Regions from separate parts of the Homo sapiens genome. Here region 2 is linked to region 1. The links are contacts of gene promoters, found by promoter capture Hi-C in human tissues and cell types (Jung and others, 2019). All regions are on one chromosome and are shown on one strand. Each heading gives the region's core, a stretch centred on a gene start or on the middle of the fragment in contact. The rest is flanking DNA. Distances are from core to core; before and after follow the strand shown.

The links. Contacts are between HindIII fragments. The study calls those that stand out against the background at their distance.
Region 2: a contact is called between a fragment that was not itself captured here and the fragment with the promoter of TPGS2 in region 1, in 1 of the 25 tissues and cell types used here (aorta).

The regions. Positions count from the first base shown.
Region 1 is chr18:36,826,916-36,834,017 of GRCh38, reverse strand. It overlaps TPGS2 (tubulin polyglutamylase complex subunit 2), which reads left to right and starts at 5,016. Exons shown (of 7, transcript NM_015476.4): 1 at 5,016-5,335. The coding sequence starts at 5,251. KIAA1328 reads right to left here and starts at 4,891. Exons shown (of 10, transcript NM_020776.3): 1 at 4,822-4,891. The coding sequence starts at 4,879. RefSeq lists a silencer at 4,657-5,256 and enhancers at 4,654-5,446, 5,547-5,656. The HindIII fragment of the contact is 11,405 bases long and covers 190-7,102 here.
Region 2 is chr18:36,679,184-36,685,706 of GRCh38, reverse strand. FHOD3 (formin homology 2 domain containing 3) reads right to left here. Exons shown (of 29, transcript NM_001281740.3): 15 at 4,137-4,271. Among named protein-coding and RNA genes, the nearest start is that of TPGS2, 150 kb to the left of the region's middle. The HindIII fragment of the contact is 3,349 bases long and covers 2,509-5,857 here.

The DNA of each region.
Region 1 (7,102 bases), core at 3,767-6,266:
GGTTACCCTGCAATATATACTCTACTATTAGGTTCCTTTCCTTTTGTAAACAAAAACTTAAGTGCTCCAGTTTGGTCATTACTGAGGAACTGACAATTCTGAAGAGTAAATAATTTCAAGATAGACTTTAGCTTTGAAGAACAAACACTGAGGGCAAGTCAATCATGCAAACACAAAGACATTATTTATTCTTCTACAGTGTATTCATAAAATATCCCAAGAAGCCCTACTATTTAAAAAGTAGAAGAAATTTAAGACAAAAAGAACTATTTTGAATTTCAAAAGGAGAAATTTAGAAAGGCTATGATTATAACACACTGTTTTCAACTGTCACCTTGATCCAACTCAACTTTTCCTCTCCCAGGATTATTGCAATAAGCTCCTAACTGCTCTCTGTCACTTCTGTGCATGTTCCCTTAACAGCCTATTTTTTCACACAGTGGTTAGAATGATCATTTTAATAGTTATGTCATTTCTAATTTAGATTAAAAGCCAAAGTATTAACAACAGCCTGCAATGCTCAAGATCTGATCCCTGTAACTTGTTACATCTCTGATCTCACTTGCTACTATTCCTCTCACTCATTCCTGGCTTTCTTATAATTGTTAACAAGCTATGCAAGCTCCTACCTTATAGCTTCTGCAGGTATGATTTCTTCTACCCAGGAAGCTCTTTCCTCAAATATCTTCATGGCTCACTTTAGGACTTATGTCATATGTCATGTCATGTCACCTTCTGATTGAAGCTTTCACTTCCTAACCATATAGGTACTTGAAATTGCAAAACTCTCTCTTCCCACAACCTACCTACCTCCCGCTACTATCTGCCTCTTTCCTGCTTTATTTTTTCTCCACAGCACCAATATCATTGAACATAGGCCAGGTGCAGTGGCTCACGTCTGTAATCCCAGCACTTTGGGAGGCCGAGGTGGGCATATCACGAGGTCAGAAAATCGAGATCATCCTGGCTAACACGGTGAAACCCTGTCTCTACTAAAAATGTAAAAAAAAAAAATTAGCCGGGCATGGTGGCGGGTGCCTGTAGTCCCAGCTACTCCAGAGGTTGAGGCAGGAGAATGGTGTGAACCCAGAAGGCGGAGCTTGCAGTGAGCTGAGATGGCACCACTGCACTCCAGCCTGGGCAACAGACCGAGACTCTGACTCAAAAAAAAAAAAAAAAATCATTGAACATATATTTTCCTTATTCATGACCTGATCTCATCTCACTAAAATGTAGGCACCAAGAGGGTAATGATTTTTGTTTTATTTTGTTCAGTGTTGTACCCTCAAACATAAAAGAATGTCTGGCTCCATCTATGAAAGAATAAAATTGGTATTGATTTAATTTTATGAGGTGTTGTCCAACAACCTTATATGTTATATTTCTGTGATTCTAAATATGCAAACAAAACTTTTTTTTTTTTTTTTTTTTGAGACAGAGTCTCGCTCTGCCACCCAGGCTGGAGTGCAGCGGTTTGATCTCAGCTCACTGCAACCTCCACCTCCTAGGTCAAGCAATTCTCTGCCTCAGCCTCCCGAGTAGCTGGGATTACAGGTGCCCGCCGCCACACCTGGCTAATTTTTTTTGTAGTTTTAGTAGAGACGGCCGTTTCATCATGTTGGCCAGACTGGTTTTGAACTCCTGACCTTGTGATCCACCTGCTTTGGCCTCCCAAAATGCTGGGATTACAGGTGTGAGCCACCGCAAGCGGCCAACAAAACCTTTTACTTTCAGCTACATCCATGACAAATTTATTTTCAAATATATAAAACTCTAAACAAACTACTTCAATATTTTTAATAACAATATTTGAAATTGCCTCTATCCTTTCTAATAATTTGTAATGTATTTTCATCTCATTATATTAAGAACCCAAATATTTACCTCCTTCAAATCTAGAATTTCCCAACAAATGTATATTTTATGGGGAAGTCAAACAGACACATTATATACCAAATGTATAGTGGGCCTACTAGTGGGTCATTTCTAGATTATTTATAATACCTAAAACAATGTACATGCTATATAAATAGTAGTTAAATTGTACAGTTTAATTTGTATTTTTTTGTGTGCTATTTCTTTTTTTTCTCAAATATTTTCCATCCACATTTGAATGAATCAGCAGATACAGAGGGCTAACTGTAATTAGAAACCCAGGCAGAAGTGGTAGAGAGGAAGATGCACCTCTATCCCAGACCTCCAGGATTTGAAGGAAATAAGTTCAGTACTGCCCATTCTACTCTAATCTGCTGAGTTTTGCCAGCAATACATGTATATGTAATTATTATCAACCACAGAGACTTTCTGGGCTAATATATTATTTTTACCACAACATACAGTCTTTGTTTCCATTTGAAAACTCAACAGCAGAGATTATACTGCAATGTTTTGACCAGGTCACTTGCAGTTCATATTTTTTAATATCAAGTCCATGATATTGCTAATGGTAATACACTTGAGTGCATTTAAGCAGTCAAATTTAGGTACTGCTGAAACACTAACTCATTCTGACATTACTAGGAACTGTAATGAAGGACAAAGGCAACTTAAACTGAAGGAGCATATTTTGCTGGAAGATTTAACCCATAACATGACAACACCACACACTCATTGTTTACAGATGAGGTACTAAAACGTTCCTTGTGCAAAACAGCACTGCTGAATCATACTGTGCAGGAGATGTATAACTCACAACAACAACAATAAAAAAAAAAGGTGCCATTGAGTCACAGATGATCTGTCCTCTCATGATGGAAACATCAAGGACTAAGAAATCTCTCCATCACATTTCTCTAAATGTTTAGGTGAAGTATTGAAAATCTTTTTTCAATAGTGTGAAAAGAATACCAGATTATAGGTACTTACTTTTTGGTCTTTTTCTATTGAAAATTCTACTATAAAGGCTCTAGGGTGGTCTGGGAAATAATCAATATGACAAAGGAATCAAGATGCAAAGACATGTAACTAAATCAAATGATTAATAACTATCATTATGCTTTTCAGCAAATATTCAGTAACAAATTTACATTTGACATTGCTTACAGTGACATTCTCTATGGAGATTTAAAATGAAAATATCTGAGGCTCGATGTTAACTGGTCATTACGTGGAATAGTCTGAGGGGAAAGGTGACACTAGCAACTTTGCAATTCCTTTCATACATCTGAATTAGATCTTATAGGATATAATCGCCACCATTTTTCCCCTGTACAATTTCAATTCCTCACTATCTATGAGAGGACGAATATTTTACATTAAATGTTGGGAGTCAGAATACAAGAGATAACGGAGTATATATGACTTCTACATAAAATAGGGGGTGATATAACTACATGAGTAAGTGAAAGTACTGGGTGCGAAGACCAAGAGCTTAGGTTCAGTCCATATATCTATTAATACACTTATTCAGTCCCATTGCAATAGCTTGTCCCCCCCCCAAACCATTGATTCTATATTTGAACAGTACCATAGGATGCTATAAGCTAATAACCTTCAAGTATCTCCTCCATCACAAAATTATGTCAATGCAGAAGCAGTGTTTCTTGAGAAAAGACTTATCCCAATTTCCTAACTTCCTAATTCAGCCCAGTTGTCCACAGTGCACATATTCTCTTCTGAAAGGTAAAGGAAAAAATATTTAATTTGCACACTGCACTAGTATGCTTTCATCCACAGTGTATGTACATGATTTCATTTGCTTTTCACCAACCTATCAGAGACAAATGGTAATTATGTCTAGTAAGTGCAAACACTAAACACGAGCAGCACAGAATACAAACATATCCCTCTCTCTACACATGACACTAATCCTAGTAACTCAACAAAGGAGTTGATAACACAGTTTTGTAAGTTTCACTGGGAGCTAAGAAGAATGCCCAGTGATTCTGCCAAAGGTAACAGCAACGCCTCAATTAATGCCATCACCAATCCTAGCAAACACAAAAAGAGCTGCCTCTGCAAGCACTCAGTAACACAGATTGCCGTCCCTCTTTCAAGTAACCCCTCTAAGGAACGTGAAGTAAATTATCAGGACCAAAGCTCAAGCGAGAAGAGTCTACCTACTCCAAGGAAAGAAACACTCCTGTCACACAAACATCTCATCACTGCTGCTGAACTGGTAATACTACCACTGGACTAAAAAGTTCCACTGCTTCTCCACCTCACAACGATCCAAGAACTTCAATGACTGCCAGTGACCCGCACTCCACAAGTAAGTCAACAATACTTCCAGGCACAATGATTCCCATCTTACGCAGTAACCAGCACCACCAGACCACATCCCAGTAACCAAGCTCCACACCTCTCCTAAAACCCCAGTATTAAAATACATCATCACTGGAGGGCCTTTTAAGTCCGAAAGGTCCTGACTTGCTCCTAGCAATGCAGACTAAAGACAATCCTAAATCAAAACAAAAAGGCTCCCTGTCCAGCCAACACCGACTCCTCCCTCAACTTCGAGCTAGCTCCGCACACTCAAGTCAGCCTGGGGGCACTCTGACAGGGTGGGCAGAGGGACCTCGGAGGGCCATCTCAGCCCTGGACTGAGCCTGGACTCAAGGCTATCTTTCTCGAGCTCACCGGTAGTGAGCGCTGGGAAGCATCTGAGCCGTGTCCCCACACCTGCAGACAGTACCAGTCTCTCGGCCACCTAACACCCAAGCAAGGGGAGAGCCCAGCACCTAGACTGGGGCCGAGCAGCACGTCCCCATCCCCGGGGTTAGTTCGGAGCTTCTCCTCCGCTCTCGGACTGCCACGCGACGGCTCGCCCCTCGCCGTCCCGTGGAGGGCGCCGGCGCCCCCTGTCAGGCGGGCAAAGGATACAGTCCCGGCTCCAGAACGCCGCGGCACTGGGGCGGGAGGGGCCCGCCACGTCCGCCATCTTGAAACAACCGCCACTCGGGGCGTCGCGCCTGGGCCGCCACGCCTCGGCCTGCAGGCTCGGTCCCCATTGGCCGCACCACGCAGAGGCCCGCCCCCGCCTGCGCGGCCGGCCCCTGCGGGGCGAGAGGGTGGGGGCGAAGGGGAAGCTACGTCCCGGAGGTGCGGTGTGGGGCACCGGGCGGGGCCGCGGGAACCGGCGCCCCACGGAGCTGCTGCTGTCAGACCAACCCCGGGCCCCCATCATCACTGCGCCGCGCTTTCAGGCGCCGAGAACTACCGTTCCCGGCATGCCATGAAATTGGCCTCGGCGCTGAGGCGGGGTCCGGCCCTCCACCCGCTCCCGCCGCGCGCGAATCGCGGTCGCGAGCCATGGAGGAGGAGGCATCGTCCCCGGGGCTGGGCTGCAGCAAGCCGCACCTGGAGAAGCTGACCCTGGGCATCACGCGCATCCTAGGTGAGGAAAGGGGGCACGGTGCCGAGAGGGTGTGGAGGAGAAGGAAGGAGGAGCGGAGGGATGAGGTGCGGGGTGAGCGGTGCGACGCTGGCCCCAGAACAGGAGTGGACATCGCTGCTGGGACTTCCGTTGTTACAGAGGAAAGTGGGGGACCTGGGTTTGTGATTAGGCCTTGAAAGTGTTTGCCAGGAGTGTTCGGAGGCAGAGCTGGGAAGCCTGAAGTTTCCCCCACTCACCGCCAACCAAGGTCCCACCCAGGAAGGACGGGCAGAGACGTGCAAAGGGAACACAGCAAGCACCTGACGGTTGGGAAGTTGGATCTCCCCCTAGGAGGCATTCTCAGCCAGGGCATTATCCCCGAAACCCAAGACCTTTCTCTGGGGGAAGTAATGCACCCGACCTCCCAGGGCGACAACTACGTCGGGTCTGAAAGGAATCCAACCTTGCACCACTGAATGACTCAGAGTTTTTCTTTTATCGAACATTTCTTTGTTTGCTTGCTTGTTTGTATTTTGAGACAGAGTTTTGCTCTTGTTGCCCAGGCTGGAGTGCAATGGCGCGATCTCGGCTCACTGCAACCTGCGCCTCCTGGGTTCAAGCAATTCTCCTGCCTCGCCCAGCTATTTTTTTGTATTTTTAGTAGAGACAGGGTTCCACCATGTTGGCCAGGCTGGTCTCGAACTCCTGACCTCAGGTGATCCACCCGCCTCGACCTCCCAAAGTGCTGGAATTACAGGCGTGAGCCACCGCGCCTGGCCTATCAAACGTTTCTTTAGTACTCACCACTATGTTAGACGTGAGGTTAAAAATATGAAAAAGACACAGTTCTGTGAAAAAAATAAACAAATGAGGTCACTAGGAGTGTGAAAAGAGGTCAGTAATCTGTTACTCAGAGATGTCACAGAGGAGGGGACTGATCTTACCAGGGAAGTTAAAGAACATGTCACAGAGGAGATGATGCTAGATTTTGAAAGACATATAGGAGTTAGCCAGAAAACTAAGGAGGAGAAAGGTCTTTTAAGAAGGCTGAAAAGCATGCTTCAGTGCCTTCCCATCACAATTATAATAAAATCCAAATGTCTGTACCATGACCCACAAGTCCCTGTAAGATCTGCTCTCATCTCTTTCTGACTTTGTTTCCACTCTTGCCCACATGGCCTTCTAGCTGTACCTTAAACACACTAAGCGGGTTCCTGCTTCAGGGCTTTTGCAGTTTGCTAGTCCTTGCACCTGGAATTATCTTTCTCTGAATGTCTCGCTTCTTCAGGTCATTCAGATCTCTGATCAAATGTCATTATTTCAGAGAAACCTTCCCTGAATATAGTTCGAATAACCGCCGTCTTTCTTGCTCTCTCTTTCCTTACCCTGCTTTTTCTTTTATTCTTATAGCACTTTCACTACTTGAAATTATGTATTTGTTTGGTTGATTTTTAAAATTTGTGTCTCTTTTAATAGAAGTCCAAGACCAAGTGTGATTTAGGAATGAGTGGTTTTAACATATGAAAATCAATTAATAGCTGGGCATGGTGGCCCATGTCTTTAGTTCCAGCTACTGGGGAGGCTGTGGTGGGAGGGTTATTAGAGCCCAGTTCAAGTCCAGCTGGACAACATAGCAAGACCCTGTCACTAAAAAAAAAGAAACTTAAAAAAAATCAATTAATATAATACAACTTACTAATAGAATAAGACAAAAACTGCATAATCATCTTAATAAAAAAAGCATTTGACAAAATCTAACCTTTCTTGATTAAAAAAAACTCAACAAAC
Region 2 (6,523 bases), core at 2,934-5,433, 150 kb after region 1:
GTGTACTGATAACTGGATATAAAGGGGCAGTAAGTTAGACTACAGCAGTGTAGGACCGGGAGAAAAATGCAACAAGGACTCAGATTTGTCATCGTTTATAAACATCCAACCTCATCACTTTCCACACTAGAACTAAATTTCCTATAACTCAGAAAGCTTAAGACCATATTCAACAAAAATGACAATAGATAAAGAACAACTTTTAGATGCTTTGCAAAAAGCACGAGGAGCATAAACAATTTAAATCAATGAAATGGCTGATAAAAGGTCAGTCATTTGGGTAACCTCAGGAACTACTTTAGAAAGCTTTTCCTATTTATTTTTTGAATTTCTTTTCATTCACATCCTCAGAAATATGGAACTGCAGTCACCATAATTAGTAGTTGCCTACGGTTGATTAGCATTCATTTTGGATGAGTGGAGGAGGGCCATTTTGCCAAGGTCTCTCTGTGTTCTTAAATGACAAGTTAGAATCACTTGAAATCAAGAGCAAATGGTTAACAGTTATTAGCATGGCCTCTGATGACAACCTTTCCAGGCCTAATTCTTACTCTGCCAACATATACATATGAATAACATAATTCCTGTATATTATAACACATGGGCAGGTGCAATGGCTCATGCCTATAAGTCTAGCACTTTAAGAGGTTGAGGCAGAAGGATCACTTGAGCCCAGGAGTTCAAAACCAGCCTGGGCAACACAGTGAAACCTCATCTCTACAAAAAAATACAAAAATTAGCCAGTAGTCCCATGTACATGCCTGTAGTCCCAGCTATTTGGGAGGCTGAGGTAGGAGGATCACCTGAGCCTGGGAGGTCGAGGCTGCAGTGAGCCAAGATGGTGACACTGCACTCCAGCCTCGGCAAAAGAGTGACACCCTGTCTCAAGAAACAAACAAACAAAAAAAACCAATGCACTCTTGTCCTATTCTCCTATACTTCTGGGACTCCGATGACACGAATGCTAGACATTTTGATGTTATTACGCAGGTCCCTACAGCTTTGTTCATTTTTCTTTCAATTTTTGTTTGTTGTGTTTAGTTTTCAGGTAGGAAAATTTCTGTTGTTCTATCTTCAGGTTCACTCATAGCAATGAGTTCACTTTCTTCTCTCATAGCAATTCTATTTGGCCCATCTGACAAATTTTCTATTTTAATTTTCCTGTTCTATATATATTTCCATTTGGATCTTTATATCTTTTATTTTTTTTTTACAGAGACATCTTTTCATTTGTTTCAAGAGTATTTGCCCTTACTTCCTAAAGCATGTTTATAATAGCTACTTTAAAGTCTTTAAATGTATAATATCTATGTCCTTTGTGGTTAGCCATCTTTTAATTCTCTTTTCCCTTTGAGTTAAAATTTTCCTAATTATTTTTATGATAAGTTATTTTGGATTGTATTCTGTACATTTTACATATTTTGTAATGAGATTTGAGGTCTTATTTAAATTCTACAAAGAATCTTGATTTTTGTTTTATTTTGTATTAGCAGGTAATCAACCGGGTTAAGTTCAACCTGCAAGTTGTAACCTGCCTTCAGACATTGGTTCCAATATTAATTCAGTTTTCTGGGATCTGGGTGGTGATCCACTCCCACTCTGTACTTAGTTCTCAAAGCCTATGGCATGCCATGTAGGTTTGAAGCCACATGTGTACAAATCAGACATGCATTCAGGAGTGCTCTCTTGATATCCTGGCTCTTTGTGGCTTTCCTAACACTTTCTGGCTCCTTGGGTTTCCTTTTATGGTCCTCCAGCCAGAAGGCTTGGGCTTTACTTTCCCTGTCCTGCTGCATACTTTTGGTAACTGCATCTGCATCTAGGACAATATAGCAGGAGGAGAGCAAAGTGATATGCCTAGTGATCATGGGGTCATAGCTCTTATGGTCAGAGGAAGAGTTCCCCTCTCTCCCATTTCAGGCAACTGCCTGGACACTGCTGCCATTGCTGTGCTTCTGTAGCAATATTGTTTGGGAGGCTAGGGTAGGAGATAAAGAAATAACAGGAATTCTCTACACTTTTATCTTTAGAAATTCCCTTTACTGTGCCTTGGTCTGGAAAAAGAGGACTTCTTCTGGGGTTCTTTTGGTCCAGATTTGACATACACTTCTAGGTTTGGGTGCCTTTGAGTACATGCCAAGTAATAGTGAAGGTAAAAAATGGTAAACTCTCACTGGTTTTGTAAAACTGAATTTTAGTCTCCCTTCCTAATTTCACCTGCTCTCTTTTATATTTCAGAGTTTTCAGAGTTTCACACATTCTCTCCATGACTTATGGTTGCATTCAGCAATGAAGGAGAGACAGGATGGAGTGAATGAATTCCATTTTCCCCAGAACCAGCACCCTGTTTCAAGAGGTTTTCAATAAAACACTTTGGATGTAAGCTAATCTCTGAATTTTCCATGTATTTCACTCAGATTCTCTGCTGCTATTTGGTGGTAAAATATGCCAATCTCCCAGAAAACCATAAATCAGGAAGCATTTAACCTGTTCCAGAGATTTAAAAAATTGGCCTTTCTAAAAGTGACAACTTCCAGAACTACCCTCATGAAAAATGGTGCATACAGAGCTGGCATTTCCAAATATCGTTTGGTAGAAATGTGACAGCTGAGGGTATGCTACACTATCTTGATGGGAAATGATGTTGGTTTACTTCATGCAGCCCATTCACCCAGTCTTAGAAAAATGAGGATTAGCATTTCAAAGACTTGGCATTTGTTTTCAAGAAGTAGTGACTTATAGTTAAGCAACTTCACAACTGTGCTCATATTTTGATCATTTTTACAATTACACATATACTTCTTGGCTTCAGAAAAGCACAAGTTATTGGCTGGGCATGGTGGCTTATGCCTGTAATCCCAGCACTTTGGGAGGCTGAGGCAGGTGGATCACTTGAGGTCAGGAGTTCAACAGCCTGGCCAACACAGTAAAACCCCATGTCTACTAAAATTACAAAAATTAGCCAGGCGTGGTGGTGTGGCCTGTAATTCCAGCTACTTGGGAGGCTGAAGCTGAAGAATCACTTGAACCCAGGAGGCAGAGGTTGCTGGGAGCCAAGATTGCGCCACTGTACTCCAGCCTGGGCAACAAAGTGAGACTCTGTCTCAAAAAACAAAACAAAACAAAACAAAAACACGTTATTAAATCTGTAAATCCTCATTAACAATGCCTTACATTCCTTGTAGATATAATGGGGAATAATTGATGGGAATATTGTTTGCCAAAGAAACTGAACTAAGGAAACAGGAGGTAGAGATGGGGAGAAAAATGAAAAGAAAGAATGTAGAAGCTATAGGGTAAATGACTTCAAAGGATTAAGGAGGAAGAGAAAGTATAGGAGGAGGTGGGGAAGAAAGGGGGAAAAGGGAAAAAGGATATAAGGAAGAGGAGAAGGAAGTAATGTGTAAGGAGAGATACAGCAACTGTTTTTCATTCCATAAAGCACAGCACAGCATGAAGCCCAGGGGATGGGTGTGAAGGAGGATGACCTGGAGAATGTGGAGAACAGGTGGACTGGCTGAAGGAGAAGCCGAGGCACACTGGGATCAGTGGGGACAGACAGGCCAAGATATGGAACCTGGAATGAGCTATAGCCAGGAACACATCCTTGAAGCTGTACAGAGACCAGGAGATCGGGGGAAATGGGCTGAGAGTAATCAACACAATGACTTTTCCCCCCACATAGCAAGAGATTATTGTTTACAAAAAATATTGAAGATTGTTACAGGGATCAAAAAGCAAACCAGAAAGTGGGAAAAGCATTTCTTTTTGGGCATCTGATAGAATATGAATAAAACATGAGGACCATTAGGAAGAGATGGCAAATTAAGTTAAGATAATTACACTCTCTGTCATCCGGAGGGCCTGGATAGGACGAGGTAGGTAATGGAGGGCCCAAGAATACATGAGTCCCTAATTGTATTTGGCTGACTGTGCTTCCTGCCATATGGTTAGAGAAACAAAAGCCATAACAAACCAGATCCAGCCTATTTCAGGTATGTCTTTCTCTTCCTTAAAAATACAGACAGAATTTTCATTACTTCCTTTAATGCCAATATTAAATGTATACAGTTGTAAAGTCACATGCCTTTAATTTTTAACTCACTATTTAAAAAAAATCTTAAGATCCTTCTTACCTGAATTTGTTTCTTTCTTCCCGCTCTATTCTCTGCAACCTTTCTTCTCTCTCCTGCCGCCGCCTCTCTCTCTCTGCTGCCAGTGACTCTTGGTGCTGCCTGAAGGATGATGTGAGAAGACCACTCGGTGATGACCTGGAGATACAATGAGTTAATGTTTCAGTTGCTTGGCCTGTGATTAAAAGTACTGAAGTAAGCACCAGTCAGACCTTGGTTAGAATTGAGGGTCTGCCGGTACCTAGGCAATGCTTGGGGAAAATCACTGAATGCCTCGGGTCTTCTTGTTTCAGATTTTTGTCTGTAAATTGGGGAAAAGTATCATACTGTGAGTGTGCTCGCAGGAGAAAAGGTGGTAACAGACAGAAAATAGCAAGCAACATGCTTGACATGTAAGCAGCCCTCAAGAATGGGAGTTATAGAAGTATTCCAGGAATGTATATACATTCTATATATATTTTACAGTTGGTCTATGTTAAGACGTAGATGAGCTAGAATCAGCTTTCAATCTAAAACTATTTTCTACCTATCTATCAGGTAATACATTCATTATTTGGGTAACAGGATCATTAGAAGCTTAAACCTCAGCATCATGAAAGATACCGATTAACAAACCAGCACATGTACCACCAAATCTAAAATTTTAAAAAAAGTGATTTTATAAAACTATTTTCTATTATACATGCACTAAAAATATTTTACTATATATCAGTCTCACAATACACTTCTTTAGAATAATTGAACAAGGCAATGAGATGACAGATGAGGACAAAAAAACTTGCAATGGGCTGAAATGTGAATAGAATTAAGGAAATTTCATTCTATGACATTCTATGTCAAGAAGCATCCAAGGACTCAGCATGGTCAAAGGACAGGCAGTGGTATTAGTAACATCACACAAGAGTCTGGACTGTTCACTGAAAATGTGTGTGAAAGCCTTGGAGAGAAACCACAGGGTGAGTATCACAGGAGATGTTAAATCAGAGAATGAGTGGGAGAAGAGAAAATCAAGTAACCGTATGACATATAAGGAAAGGGGTTAGCTATGTAAAGGAGTCTGATGGATCTCTGGAGAATAAAATCTGTTATGGACAATTGAGGCCTTCACTTATGGAAAAAAATCTCCAAAACAAAGAGAAAAATATTTATGAAATATATTTTGCCAATTTATTTATCCAAGGATATAGCTTGGGTAAAATCCTACCTGGATTCAGTGAAAAATATACCTGCAAGGTGGGGAACACAGATCTCAGTGCAGGAGAAAGATGTGACTTTCATATTACAGACTGCCATGAGTCCCACAGATGTTCTCCCTAGAAAAGGTGAGTCACCTATGGCTATCACTCATAGGTGGCAGGGAAAATGGAGGGAAGAAACCACCATCCCTGGCAGCTACAGGGAGGGAGTAACCAAATTCAATATTCCAGGCTCACTATGGAACTATTTCCATCAGCTCTGGACACTAAGGCATAGATAGAGTTTATTTATCTTCCTCATAAAATAAGTTCAGACAAACTTCTAACTTTTGTAAGCTATTATTATTTTGTGGGAATTCTTCCCTGCTGTATCCAGCCAAACCTAATCAACAATCAGAGTAAAGAGGTTTGTAATACCTCTTGCACAGTAATTGATAAAACTGTTATGCATATAATAGATTTGTTTAACCCAATTAATAAGTTTTATCTAATAGATTAACATGTATATAACCTGGTGCCCAAATGGGAGAAAACATATTCTTTCAAATATATAAGGACTACTCAAAAATTGACCATCAATTGTGTCACAAAGCTCAAGAATGAATGCCACAAACTGGTTTCACACGAGCTACCTTACTGATCATAATGCAACTGCATTGAAAATCAATAACAAGGAGATAAATTTGAAAAAAATCCATATAATTGGAAAAACTAAAACATGTCTAATAACTTAGGTCAGAAAAAAAAACATGGACAATTAGAATACATTTAAAGGGTACCATAATGAAAAAGCTGAATATGAAGTTTTGTAGAATACCTCTAAAGTAGTATTTAGAAGGAAATTTATTGTCTTAAGTATTTATATTAGAAGAAAAGAAAGAGTAAAAATTAATGAGTGATCAGCTCAACAATTGGAAAGGCAACAGTGGAATAAATTCAAAGAAGGCAAAAGGAAAAAAATAAAGAGCAAAGACTAATAAAATAGGAAAACGAAGGTGTATAGACAAAAATCAACAAAACTAAAAGCTGGTTTATAATTGTGAAAAACCTAATAGACAAGTTCCATCAAAATTATTCAAGAAAAAGGGCCATAAATGAGCATATTCAGGAATGACAGGTAAATACAATTATAGATATAGTGACCAAAAAACATTACAAAAATAAGGGGAAATTTTTATAATACACTTGAAAAAT